Regions from separate parts of the Homo sapiens genome. Here region 1 is linked to region 2. Evidence: promoter capture Hi-C in human tissues and cell types (Jung and others, 2019). All regions are on one chromosome and are shown on one strand. The core of a region is centred on a gene start or on the middle of the fragment in contact, and the rest is flanking DNA. Distances in the headings are between cores, read along the strand shown.

Region 1 (5,821 bases), core at 669-3,168, 58 kb before region 2:
TGTAGTATATTTTCTGGGGGAAAAATGGACACTTGTAGCTGCATAAATATTAAACCCTTCCTCTTAGTCTATTTTCTTCAACATCCATGAAAATAACTGGACATAGACTAAAAAGCATTTCTCAATATTCAATACATCAGGAATCTACAAATTATTCAGGACAGTAGGATCTACGGAAAGATATATCTTGAAAATAGGCCTTATCTGTTGCCCAAGAGATACAGGGCCATTGGTAATTTCAATGCCCTCTTTGGTTTATATGGACAGTGTTAAGCAAAATAACTTTTAGTGTATCTTTTTTAAACCTCTTTCAAAGAGAGATACTCTATCAAGGCCGTTTTCAATGTTTCAGTACCTCTTGCCAGAGCCCTGCACATGTTCCTGCATCCTAACATGCTCACTGTGGGTTATGTCCTGAGAAGACCTGCTTGGTTTAGCAGCTGTGGTACCCATGAAAGAAATACATCTCTGATCCTGTGGTAAGTGAAATCAAATTTCCCTGCATTTCCGTAAGACCCCCTATACCAAAACATTGTTGGGGCTCACAAACTGATACCTCAAAATATGCTCATTGACATACTTAACTGAAGAAGCCTCAAGGTCTCTCTGATCTTCCCCATCTGGCCCCCCCAGTCTGTCCCAAAGACAGGATGATGTTGAAGTTCATTTATCTGGCCAGACATGGTCTCTCACGCCTGTAATTCCAGCAGTTTGGGAGGTCGAGGTGGGCGGATCACTTGAGGCCAGGAGCTCAGGACCAGCCTGGCCAACATGGTGAAACCCCATCTCTACTAAAAAGAAAAAAAAAGAAGTTTCTTCATCTGTCTGAGATCCTGAACAGATCCTTTCACAAGATAACATACAAGTTCATCTCTGTTCCTTGAACCGTTCATTCTCTCCAGCAATTCCCATAACAGAATTTCTCTTCTCCATCACCCCATAACCTATTTTGCCAGGATGGTACATAAGTTTCTGAATCCCGTTGGGGTGGGGTAATCACTCTGCAATTCATTCTGTGTGCATGTTAATAAATTTGTATGCCTTTTCTTCAATCAATCTGCCTTTTGTGAGTTGATTTTTCAATGAAATTTTTTTTTTTTTTTTTTTTTGAGGCAGAGTCTCTGTCACCCAGGCTGGAGTGTAGTGGCATAATCTCGGCTCACTGCAACTTCTGCCTCCCGGGTTCAAGAGATTCTCCTGCCTCAGCCTCAAGAGTAGCTGGACTACAGGTGCCTGCCACCATGCCCGGCTAATTTTTGTATTTTTAGAAGAGATAGGGTTTCACTATGTTGGCCAGGCTGGTCTCAAACTCCTCACATGAATATTCACACTGAATATTCATGGTGATCTGCCCTCCTCAGCCTCCTACAGTGCTGGGATTACAGGGGTGAGCCACCGCCCCCGGCCCTCAGTGAAATTTTAGAGTGGGGAGGGGAAGCTTTCCTTAGGCCCCTATAGCACAATGGTCAGTTTAGTATACCTTGTTTTCGATTCCTTTTGTCTTTGCTAAGAATTTAAGTAACACCTGAAGCACCAGTCAGGCAGCATTCCAAAGAAGGTTCAGCCGCATTTAAACCGTCGTGTCCCCCTGTGAGGCACTCCAGGCCAGATCCCAATCTCAGCCACATTCTTCACTTACACTTGACTGGCTGAGAAAGAACAGAACAAAACTGCCTTGGGTCAGAGGCCACTTTTTTATATCAGATGATCTAAACTGTTCCTGGAAGGATGTTTATCTGCTGGAACAAACACCCTGGGGCCTCCTGGCTGAAGCTGGGCTTTCCTCTGTCCATGCATCCTCCAAGGCTATCCAGAGTGCTTTGAGCAGCCCGCCTTGTCCATTCTTTCCATTTGTCTCTGTCTCCCCAGAGAGAAACGCCACAGGGAAGTACATGACAAGCTGCTATGTTACCTTAACATTGAATTCCCAGCAGGGATCACAAAGCCATGGAAGATACTGGTTCAGAAATTAGCTGAGAGGGACAGAGGGCTTTTAGCAGACGAGTGCTGGCTTTGCCTTAGAGAGCTTTCTGGGTGGTGCTCTGACTAAGGGCATTCAGGTCTTTATGATTCAGGGTTATTATAATGGCGGTGCTAACTTTTCTTGCGTACTGATGTAACTGGCAGCACATTAAGTGCTTCACCTATATTACTGCAGTCTTCCCAAGAATGCTATGAGATTGGACCATTAGTGCTAGGAGGTAGAAGGGCTGGGAGGTTCCCTTACCCATGGCCATACCAAGGGTCTGAGCCAGGATTCACACTGGTCTGCCTGGCTTTAGCATTCATCCCTCACTGTTACTATGCTGCAGAGGATGAATTGGCAGCCCATGGGCTGGATTTTGTTTAGCCTGCCAGTGTTTTAAAAGACATTTAAAAATCTGAGCCAATATTTAAAATGCAAGTGATTTCACATATAAACAAACAAAATTCTAACATCTCTTAAAAATAGCTATGACTGGCAACACTGGGTCCTCAATCCCAAAGGCTCCTGGCTATTGGAGGTAAGTATTGGCTTCCCTGCTACATGGGGCATGTGCTCCCAGTTTCCCATAGAACCTAGTATGGCAGGCTGGCTCCATTCATGTACCTGCTCCAGAAGAGCCAGACTTGCATTATAGCCTTCTATAGCATGATTTTTGGGTGCTGTGTGTACCCCTGACCTGGCATAGCCCTAGAAACAGAATTCTGTGCCAATACCATAGCTTGGGTTGGTTAGGAACAGAGAACTCAAGTGTAAGCTGCTGAGGGTTTGTGGCAGGTAATTTATGGTTAATTCCAAAGTCAGTTCATCTCCAAGGGAGAGGGCAGGATAAAGAGGTGGCATGGGAAGTGCTGGAAGTGACCATAGACCTGGGATTGACTCCAGGTTCTGCCACAGGCTGGTTACATGAGCCACATTGAGTCACTTTCTTTCCCTGTACCTATAAGAAGGAGAGATTGGAGTTGATGTTGTCAGGTGGGTGTCAGCTCTGAAATTCTAATATGCCACTGCTTGTTAGTCAAATTTTCACAAGAGAAACTGACTTTGGAGGTGTATCTTCTGGCAGTGGACAATGGGTGCAAACGAATAGGTAATTAGCAAACAACTCCGGCTCAGGTTCAGAGCAGCTGGAAGGTTATGGACCCGGCCCAGTGAAGAGAGGTGTGGCCCAAAGCACTGCAGCCATTTTGAATGCCAGAGCTTTCTGTCACATTAGTTCAGGGGTCAGTTCAGGGCTTGGCTCTTTATTTAGAAACCATAATAGGAACTACTTAAACCATTCTTTTCCAGAGCAAATGCCTCACCCCAAAAAATATCACTGGGAACTATATTAGAGAGAATTGCACAATCTTTCAGTGCATTCAGAGGAACTCACAGGAACTGTATTGTTTTCTACTTTCTTCCTTGCTTTTGAAACACAAACCTTATCACAACAAAGTGAACCTGTTTCTCCAATTAAAGCAGTCATGAAAATAAATAGTTATCCACAAAACTGCACTGTAAGAAATAAAAATAAGTCAGTAGATCAGGCAAAGTGCCAAGAAAACTCCTTCGTAATACATTTTACTTATCTCCTCTTTTGTGCCTCTGCAGGTCTCTTAATTCCCTCTGGCCTGTCACCATCTCTGAGTGTATGTTTCATTGGCTTCTTTGAATAAGCCTTATTGTCTCTTTAGCAAAGGTGGTGTGTGCAACCTTATGTTCTGTTGCTTGTCTGAAAATGAGACCTCAGGCATGACTTCCTGGTATCTCCCAGGAATGAGCAGGTTTTAGGATGTGGACCCAATAGAAACTCTTCTGAGAGCCAGATACCAATTGAGGTTCTTAGAGACCTCTATGAGAAGGCCAACTTGACTGAACTGAGCCTACTGGCTTGACTTTGTAGAAACTTCCTTCTATAGCGGAGGCTAGCTGACTTTCCAGCTTGTTCTGGGGCAGTGCCTCCTAGATCAAGGCTTCTCCAACTTTAATGTTAGAATGTAGATTCTCATTCAGAAAGCCTGGGGCATGGTCCAGGAGAGGGTCTGCATTTCTCCCAGGGCCCCTGGTGATGCTGATGCTCCTAGTCCAAGGACTGCATTTTGAGTTGCAAGGTCCTACACTAGTAATTCTCAAGTGTCTGCTACCAGGACCAACAGCAACAGCATCAACTGGTAACTTGTTAGAAATGGAAATTCTTAGGCTCCACCCCAGATCTCCTGAATCAGAACCCCTGGATGTGATCCAGTAATCTCTATTTTTTTTTTTTTTTTTTGAGACAGACCCTCACTCTTGTCCCCCAGGCTGGAGTGCAGTAGTGTGATCTGGGCTCACTGCAACCTCTGTCTCCCGGGTTCAAGCAATTCTCCTGCCTCAGCCTCCTGAGTAGCTGGGCTTACAGGCACCTGCCACAATGCCTGGCTAATTTTTGTAGTTTTGGTAGAGATGGGGTTTCACCATGTTGGCCAGGCTGGTCTTGAACTCCTGACCTCAAGTGATCTGCCCGCCTTGGCCTCCCAAAGTGCTGGGATTACAGGCGTGAGCCACTGTGCCTGGCTGTAATCCGTGTTTTAACAAACCTTCCAGGTGAGCCTGATACATGTGAGAGTTTGAGAACCACTGTCTGTGTCATTGTTATGGGTTGAATTGTGTCCCTCCTCTAAAGGATATATAGAGAACTCAATATATGAAATCCTAACCTCTAGTACTTATGAATGTAACTTTATTTGGATATAGGGTCTTTGCAGATTTAATCAAATTAAGATGAAATCATTAGGATGTACCTAGCCTAATATGATCAGCGTCCTTTAAGATGATCATGTGACATCACAGAGACACAGAGGGCAAAGATGATCTGATGACAACAGAGGCAGAGGTTTGAAGTGATGCATCTACAAGCTAAGGAATGCCAAAGATGACCAGAAAAAAAAAAAAAGAAGCTAGAAGAGGCAAAAAAAAGAATGTTTTTTTCTCCGTGTTTCCGAGGCAACATGGCCCTGCCAACATCTTAATTTTGAAAGTTTAGCCTCCAGAAGTGTGAGACAATAAGTCGCTGTCATTTTAAACAACATCATTTGTGGTACTTCGTTACAGCAGCCTTAGGAAACTAATACAATCGTGAAAGGCTTTCCCTGCTCAGTGATAGAACAGCAGGTACTTATAGGGCTCAGGTGCGGCTATTGACTGATGGGTAGCAGAAGATAGGGAAAGAAATGGAAGAAGGCAAAATAGAAAGCAAGAAGCAGTGATGATTTTTGTTCTGAGGTATTTGTGGGCTTAATAATTTTTAAAACATTATTTGTAAGTTAATTATCAAACATTTATTGAATGCTTACTACATGCCAAGATCCGTTTTAGATTCTGGGGATATAACAATGATCAAGTCCAGTTTCTTTTCCTCAAGAAACTTGCAGTCAGTACAGGAAAGAGTTGAGTAAACACGCCCTCACTATGCAAGGGCAGATGGCACTCAGAGTACACAGGCTATGGGAGCAGGGAAGCCACACAGAGTTGTATTGGTTGCGCATTGCACCACACATAGTCTTAGATGTAAATGGTCTCCCCTAGGGTTGTGTGGTGCACAAATGCTCTACTGAGCATGACAGCTCCGTTAGGAAGATTCAAGAGGAACATTAAATTCAGTTCTTTTGATTTTTATTTTATTTATTTATTTATTTATTTTTGAGATGGAGTTTCACTCTGTCGCCCAGGCTGGAGTGCAGTGGTGCAATCTCAGCTCACTGCAACCTCCACCTCCAGGTTTCAAGTGATTCTCCTGCCTTAGCCTCCCAAGTAGCTGGGATTACAGGCACCCGCCACCACACCCAGCTAATTTTTGTATTTTTAGTAGAGATGGGG
Region 2 (6,202 bases), core at 1,616-4,115:
ACTTTTTTATGGCAGCCTTAGTAGACTAACCCAAGGAGGAGGAATCAGGGATGTAGGGAGCCAGGCAGGCGGAATAAAGGGTGACTTTGAGGTTTCTGACTGTGGCAGCCTAGTGTGGGATGCTGTTGTGTTCCAAAAGATGTGACCTAGGGGGAGCAGCCGGGTTAGAGATGGGAGATGGTGCCTTCTAGACAGCCGATTGGAGATGTCCACTAAGCAGCTGGGTATGTGGGGTTGGGGCTTGGTCAAGGGAAGGGAGCTGAGGATGCAGATATTGTGATCTCCAGAGCAGTCGAAGCAGAGCAGTGGTCAAGGTTGCCCAGGGCACATGTGTGCTATGAGAAGAAAAGGCAGAGGACAGGACCACAGGGACCCCTATCACTTATGGGAGAGGCGAAGGAAAAGGGCCTGGGCACAAGACAGTGAGGGGCATTAGTGAGAGTCTCAGAGAACAGTGTCAGGGGAGCCAAGAGAGGCTTTCAAATGCTGGAGAGTTCAATGTTTCCAAGACTCTCTCTTTACACGTGCACGCGCGTGCACATGCGCACACACACACTTTTGGGCTGTTGCTTTGTAATGATTTCCCTCATTATTTTGTGTGTGATATTCTTCAAGTTTTGGAGTCAGAACCAGAGTACTGTCCATTTGCTTCTCCAGAGGCAGCAGAATGCTTTTCAGCTCCACATCCCTGCCAGGTAATGCCTGCCCTCTAACAGGTGGGCCACTTCAGCTACATTTTCCCTCTCACTCGGAGGTGTCTCTGCTGGGTTGTCTTGATTTTCCCTCCAGGGTCATCCTTAGCTGTCCCTTTAGTGATGATGCATGGCTAGAAGAGAGAAACTCCATGGCTCTGCCCCAGGGTGTTTGAGGTGGGGCTGCTTTTTTGTTTTTTTTTTAAGACAGCATCTTGCTTTGTTGCCCATCGTGGAGTATACTGGCACGATCATGGCTCACTGCAGCTTCAAGCCCCACTCAAGTGATCCTCCCACCCCAGCCTCCTGAGCAGCTGGGACTATATGCCCAGCTAATTTTTTGTTTGTTTTCCTGTTACTAGATGGATTCTTTTTTTTTTTTTTTAAATTTTGTAGAGACGAAGTCTCAGTATGCTGCTCAGGCTAGTTTCGAACTGCTAGGCTCAAGAATTCCTCCTACCAGCCAGGCGCAGTGGCTCATGCCTGTAATTCCAGTACTTGGGGAAGTCGAGGTGGGTGGATCACTTGAGGTTGGGAGTTCGAGACCAGCTTGGCCAATATGGAGAAACCCCGTCTCTACTAAAAATACAAAAATTAGCTGAGTGCGGTGGTGCACCTATAATCCCATCTACTTGGGATGCTGAGGCAGGAGAATCGCTTGAACCCAGGAGGCAGAGGTTACAGTTACAGAGCCAAGATTGTACCATTGCACTCCAGCCTGGACAACAGAGCGAGACTCAGTCTCAAAAAAAAAAAATTCCTCCTACCTTGGCCTCCCAAAATATTGGGATTATAAGCTTGAGCCACTGTGCCCAGCTGAAGCTGCTCTTCTTAAGGCTCATTGAGGGGTAGGGCAGAATCCCTGTGCCTTTGGTTGGAATTACAGAAACCACTGCTCCCACTGCCCTCAGCTTCCCCAGACCCGGGAAGTGACCATTCAGCACTGGCACTGCATAGATTCCAGGGCATCACCCTTTACTTATTCTGGGGAAGGGAAAGCACATAGACCCGCCTCTCATTTATCCCTCACTGCAACCCAGTGAGACACACATTGAAGTAAAGTGATGTTCTCAAAGCCACATGATTAATTAGGAACCCAGGAATTGAACCTAGCTGTTTGACTCTAAAGGTCTTTCCACTGTGACCTTGCCCTCTCCTGCTGCCTTATTTTCACCACTCAGTTCTCTCTGCTCCATCTTTACTCAATGGTTGCTCCACCTGCCCATACGCAAACACTAGGAGGATGCTGCTGAAGGCCTGGAGCACCTTCACTGCAAACATAGTCAGTCAGCAGCAGCAGTAAGCCAGGCAACCAGTCATGAAACTTTCCCATCCAAGGTACTTCTGGGGGCTGGAGGAAACAATAAGGAGAGAGAGAGAGAATAAGAGAGAGAGAGAGCAACGTTTAGGCTTTAACGAGAATCTTGCCTAGTTGGCAATCTGCTGGATGAAATGTCAGAGATTTTTGCTAACCCACTCACCTTTGACAGCAATAGCTTCTGAGTATTGGGATCTCCAGAGAGAGGGGCAGTTGAAGCAGAGCACATTCAGTGTCTTTTTGGAGTCTCAAAAAAATTGCAAGGTGGGAAGTGCTGGCCCTCTCCTGCTCCCACTGAAATGAAGCTGGAAGAGAATTGCACACCCAGCTGGGCATCTCAGGAGACCTAGGCAAGTTCAGTCTTGAGTGACAAACTCAGTGGTCTTGTCACTTCAGCTCATGGCCTTCCTGAGGTCCCCCAGCATGAGTCTCCTCCACGAGAGACCTGACCAATGGTGACCCAGCCTCTGTTTGAGCGTCATCTACCAGCAGAGATGGGGACTCCTGGCCCCAAGGCTCCCAGCATAGCCTGACACTTTGAGCTATTCCAGTCCTTTCTTATTTTGAGATTAAATCTCCCTCCCTACAGCTCCCTTCCACAGTCAGGAGGAAAGTCCTGCTGAATGCAGGCCCTGAAGCAAGGGCCAGGGAAGCTTTTCCTCGTCACCCTCCCAAAGTCAAGACTTGGAAAGGCAGCTCTGAGCCCCTGGCTTGGCTGGCTGGCCGGAGCAGGCAGCCACTGTGCCTGCAGGGAATTCTGCACAGCCAGTTTCCTCATACCTGAGCCGTCTACAGCTGCACGCACCACTCCCGGCCTCAACACACTATTTAAGGCCAATACACGGGAGCTGGTTGTGAGTCACCAAGGAAGGCAGCGGCAGCTCCACTCAGCCAGTACCCAGATACGCTGGGAACCTTCCCCAGCCATGGCTTCCCTGGGGCAGATCCTCTTCTGGAGGTAGTATATACTCTTCTCTCTATCCTTATGGGTGAAGGGAACAGCAGTGAGGTCTTTTGGGGATGCTGAGCACTGCTGGGCTGTCCCATAGGACCCCACCTGTAATTTTATCTGATCCAGCATTGGGCCAGCGGGAGCCTGGCCAGACAAGAGCCTAACTGGATTTGACTTAACATCCCACCTCAGCTGCTCAAGGCACCTGTTCAGGGTTAGGGAGGTTTTTGGTTGGTGGCCTGCCATGGAGGGCTGGCGCTTGCTGGGCAGCTTGGACTGAGGGGAGTACGTGCCAAGCTGGGCATTCCCCTGAGATGTCAAGGCTGTGAGCACCATGGGGACACTGAGCAGGCTGGTGTGGGTTGCATGGTGGGATGGCAGGGAATCCATGACTGCGACAGTGGAGGGGATGCAGGAGGACCCTTTATGCAGCCCCCAGGGGGACGGAGGAGAATGTGCTTTCATTCTCTGTGGGTGTGATTTCTTGCTACTCTTGAGCAATTCACACCAACACCCCTCCCCAGGCCCCCCCAGCTCAAAGGTTGGGTCCCTAGTTTTCCTAGGAGCTCCTTGGAGAGGAGAACTTGCTGCTGCTGCTGCTGCTGCTGCTGCTGCTGAACTCCCCAGAGAGGAAGAAGGAAGCAAGTTCCCTCCCCTACCTTTTGCTTCTCCCCTGAGCTACATTCTAGTTGCCTCTTTTTCCCTCAGAACAGCATTTACCCTCCTGGAAGGAAAGAGATGGAAAGTGCAGGGTTTTCTTGAAATGATTGATTCAGTGTCAGTCACAACTCAGGACAGTGTTTAGGGAGGCTGATACTTGTTGGTTCTAGAGGTTGTTTGAAGGACCAGTCCTCCAATTTGTTTCTTTTTCCCACAAAAGGAAGAAAAGAAGAGAGGGAAGGAGAGAGGAAAGGAATCCTCAGGTCAACAGTGAAAAGTTTGTGAAGAGACTACGAGAGTAATGTTACTTCCCAGAGGCAGCCTAGAAAGTTCTTTTCCTTGAAACAAAATATCAGCTCCCCTGACTCGACTCACGTTTATCTGAAATCACCTGCCGGGTAGCAGAGGTGAAGGACTCTGCAGGGCTGGTGGGGGTGGCTGCAGCGGCACTTCTGCCCCCACCCCTGTGCCTGGCTACAGCACTGTGCTCCAGGAGAAGCAGTGGGTGGCAGGGGCTTCCCTCTAGACCCTTCTGCCCTGAGAGGATGTCCCTAAGAAGCACCTATGTCAGAGGAGCTAGCATTTTGTGAGTGACTCCTTCCCTGCCCTGCACTAGGTGTCTTAGAGCAGCGTGTCCACCACTGCCTTGTGAAGACTCGTTATCACCTCAGAGAAGTTAAGGCCAGATGACTGTGAAACTGTGCATGAGGGGATCTTGCTCTGAAATCCCAAGCTCTCTCCCCCTGCCACCCTTGCCCCTGCTCCTGCCAGTCCCAGTTCTCCATGCCCACCATTCCTCCAGCCTTGATCCCAAGGACATGAAACACTCCTCCTGCAACAAGTGGCTCCATTGTTCAGAGGTCAGATGGGATGTGTGGGCTCTCTCGTAATGCTTTGCATCCAGTCTGACTGGTTTTGCTGGAGGATTAGCAGGAGGTGGGTGTTCAAAATTCGTATCCCCTACCCTTCAGAAACCCACTGGAATCAACAGAGACTCCTCTTGTTGGCTCCTGCATGCCTTGTTGGCTATTCATGCTCTGCAGTTTCAGAAGCAGCGACTGTCCATGAGGGTGGCAGATCCTTTGTGCAAGGGACCTCCAGGAAGAGGGCCAATGAGCAGCTTCAGTGGGGAGCAGGATCATGAAAGCTCATCTCAGGGATGCAGGTGGAGCCTGCCTGGGGTAACTCTTGACCCTAATAACCCTCTTCCTTTGTCATAATGGCCTTAATTCATAAAAATACCTCTCCTGGAGGTGATCATGACAGTGGTGATGTTGGAACGCTCATGAAAGGGCCTGCCATCCTCTGCAGACCCAGTGAGTTATTCTCCTAAGTATTCATAATTTCCAGAGAGCCTAATTCCTTCAGATCTCACTCTCAGCATGCATGCTGCTCAGGGATGGAATGCTGATGTGCAGATTTTACCGTGCCTGGCCTCTGTGCACATTTAGGAACTGTGTGACTAGAACCCTCCTCCCCTCTCCCCATCATGGCTGTTGACAGCAGCAGCATTCGCTCATGAAACATTTGCAGAATGCTTGCTAGGAGGACAGGGGTAGAAAACCCTTGCTCTGAGGGGGTTAAGTTCCAGTCAACAATATTAACTGAGCACTCACTGTGTCCTGAATATTGCACTAGACAATGGGGCAAAAGTGACTAAGATGCTGTCAAGGTCATAACCTAATGGAGGAGAAAGACTCCCACATAACAACTCTAACGCGCCACCCTTAAGTCCTCAGACAATAAGCACAGGTTGCAAGGGGAGCACTTCCCTCACCCAAGGCTTTTGGGGAGGGTTTCTGAGCCAGAGAATGGGTGGGCTGTGTCTTGAAAAATGAGTTCATATGACCCAGGTGAAGAAGGGTGGAAAAGGCTGTCTAGGTAGAGGAAACAGAATTAAATCAAATACAATAAAACTCATGAATGAGCATGGTGTGTTGGAAAGCTACACACTACTGTGTATTATCATCATAACATGAAGTTTGAGGCAGGAAATGCTGGGAGATGAGGCTGAGAGGTCACACCAGGTCACACTGGGCCTTCGATAGACTCAGAACTGGGATTTGTGGTGATGAGGAGCCCTTACAGGCACAGGCCATATTGGTGTCCAACTTTCAGCTTCCCTGAGCCTATAAAATCTGAGCCTTCAGAGCCTTCAGAGGGGGGTCAAGGTGGTTTTCGTCTCAGGTGGGCAGCAAGCCTGGAGGCCAGAAGAAGAGTTGGGAAACAGTTGTGGTCAGAGTATACAGGATGACAGGGACCTGGCATAGATGAGAGTGAGAGTAAAGAACTACAGGAGGAAAATGGATTCAGGAAACACTGGACTTAAAACTGGTGATATTTGATCAATGATTGGAGGGGCAGGTAGGATGCTGCAGAATAAGAGTAGGTGAGGCAAGGGGCAGATCCTGGAATGACTACCATGTTTCTGGATTGGGTGCAGTGAGTTGGGGACAAGGAAGAGAGAGGAGAGCTAGTTAATGTGTTGAGCTTGAGATTCCCCTGGGACCTTCAGATGGGGATGCTCCCTGGGCAGCAGAGGGCATGAGGCTAAAACTAGGAGAGGTCAGGCCTGGGGAT

The links. Contacts are between HindIII fragments. The study calls those that stand out against the background at their distance.
Region 1: a fragment that was not itself captured here is called in contact with the fragment with the promoter of VTCN1 in region 2 in 1 of the 25 tissues and cell types used here (bladder).

What each region holds. Positions count from the first base shown.
Region 1 is chr1:117,264,926-117,270,746 of GRCh38, reverse strand. No RefSeq gene overlaps it. Among named protein-coding and RNA genes, the nearest start is that of LINC01525, 28 kb to the left of the region's middle. RefSeq lists an enhancer at 1,326-1,844 and a silencer at 1,806-2,100. The HindIII fragment of the contact is 4,907 bases long and covers 1-4,371 here.
Region 2 is chr1:117,207,590-117,213,791 of GRCh38, reverse strand. It overlaps VTCN1 (V-set domain containing T cell activation inhibitor 1), which reads left to right and starts at 2,865. Exons shown (of 6, transcript NM_024626.4): 1 at 2,865-2,968. The coding sequence starts at 2,937. The HindIII fragment of the contact is 7,128 bases long and covers 2,077-6,202 here.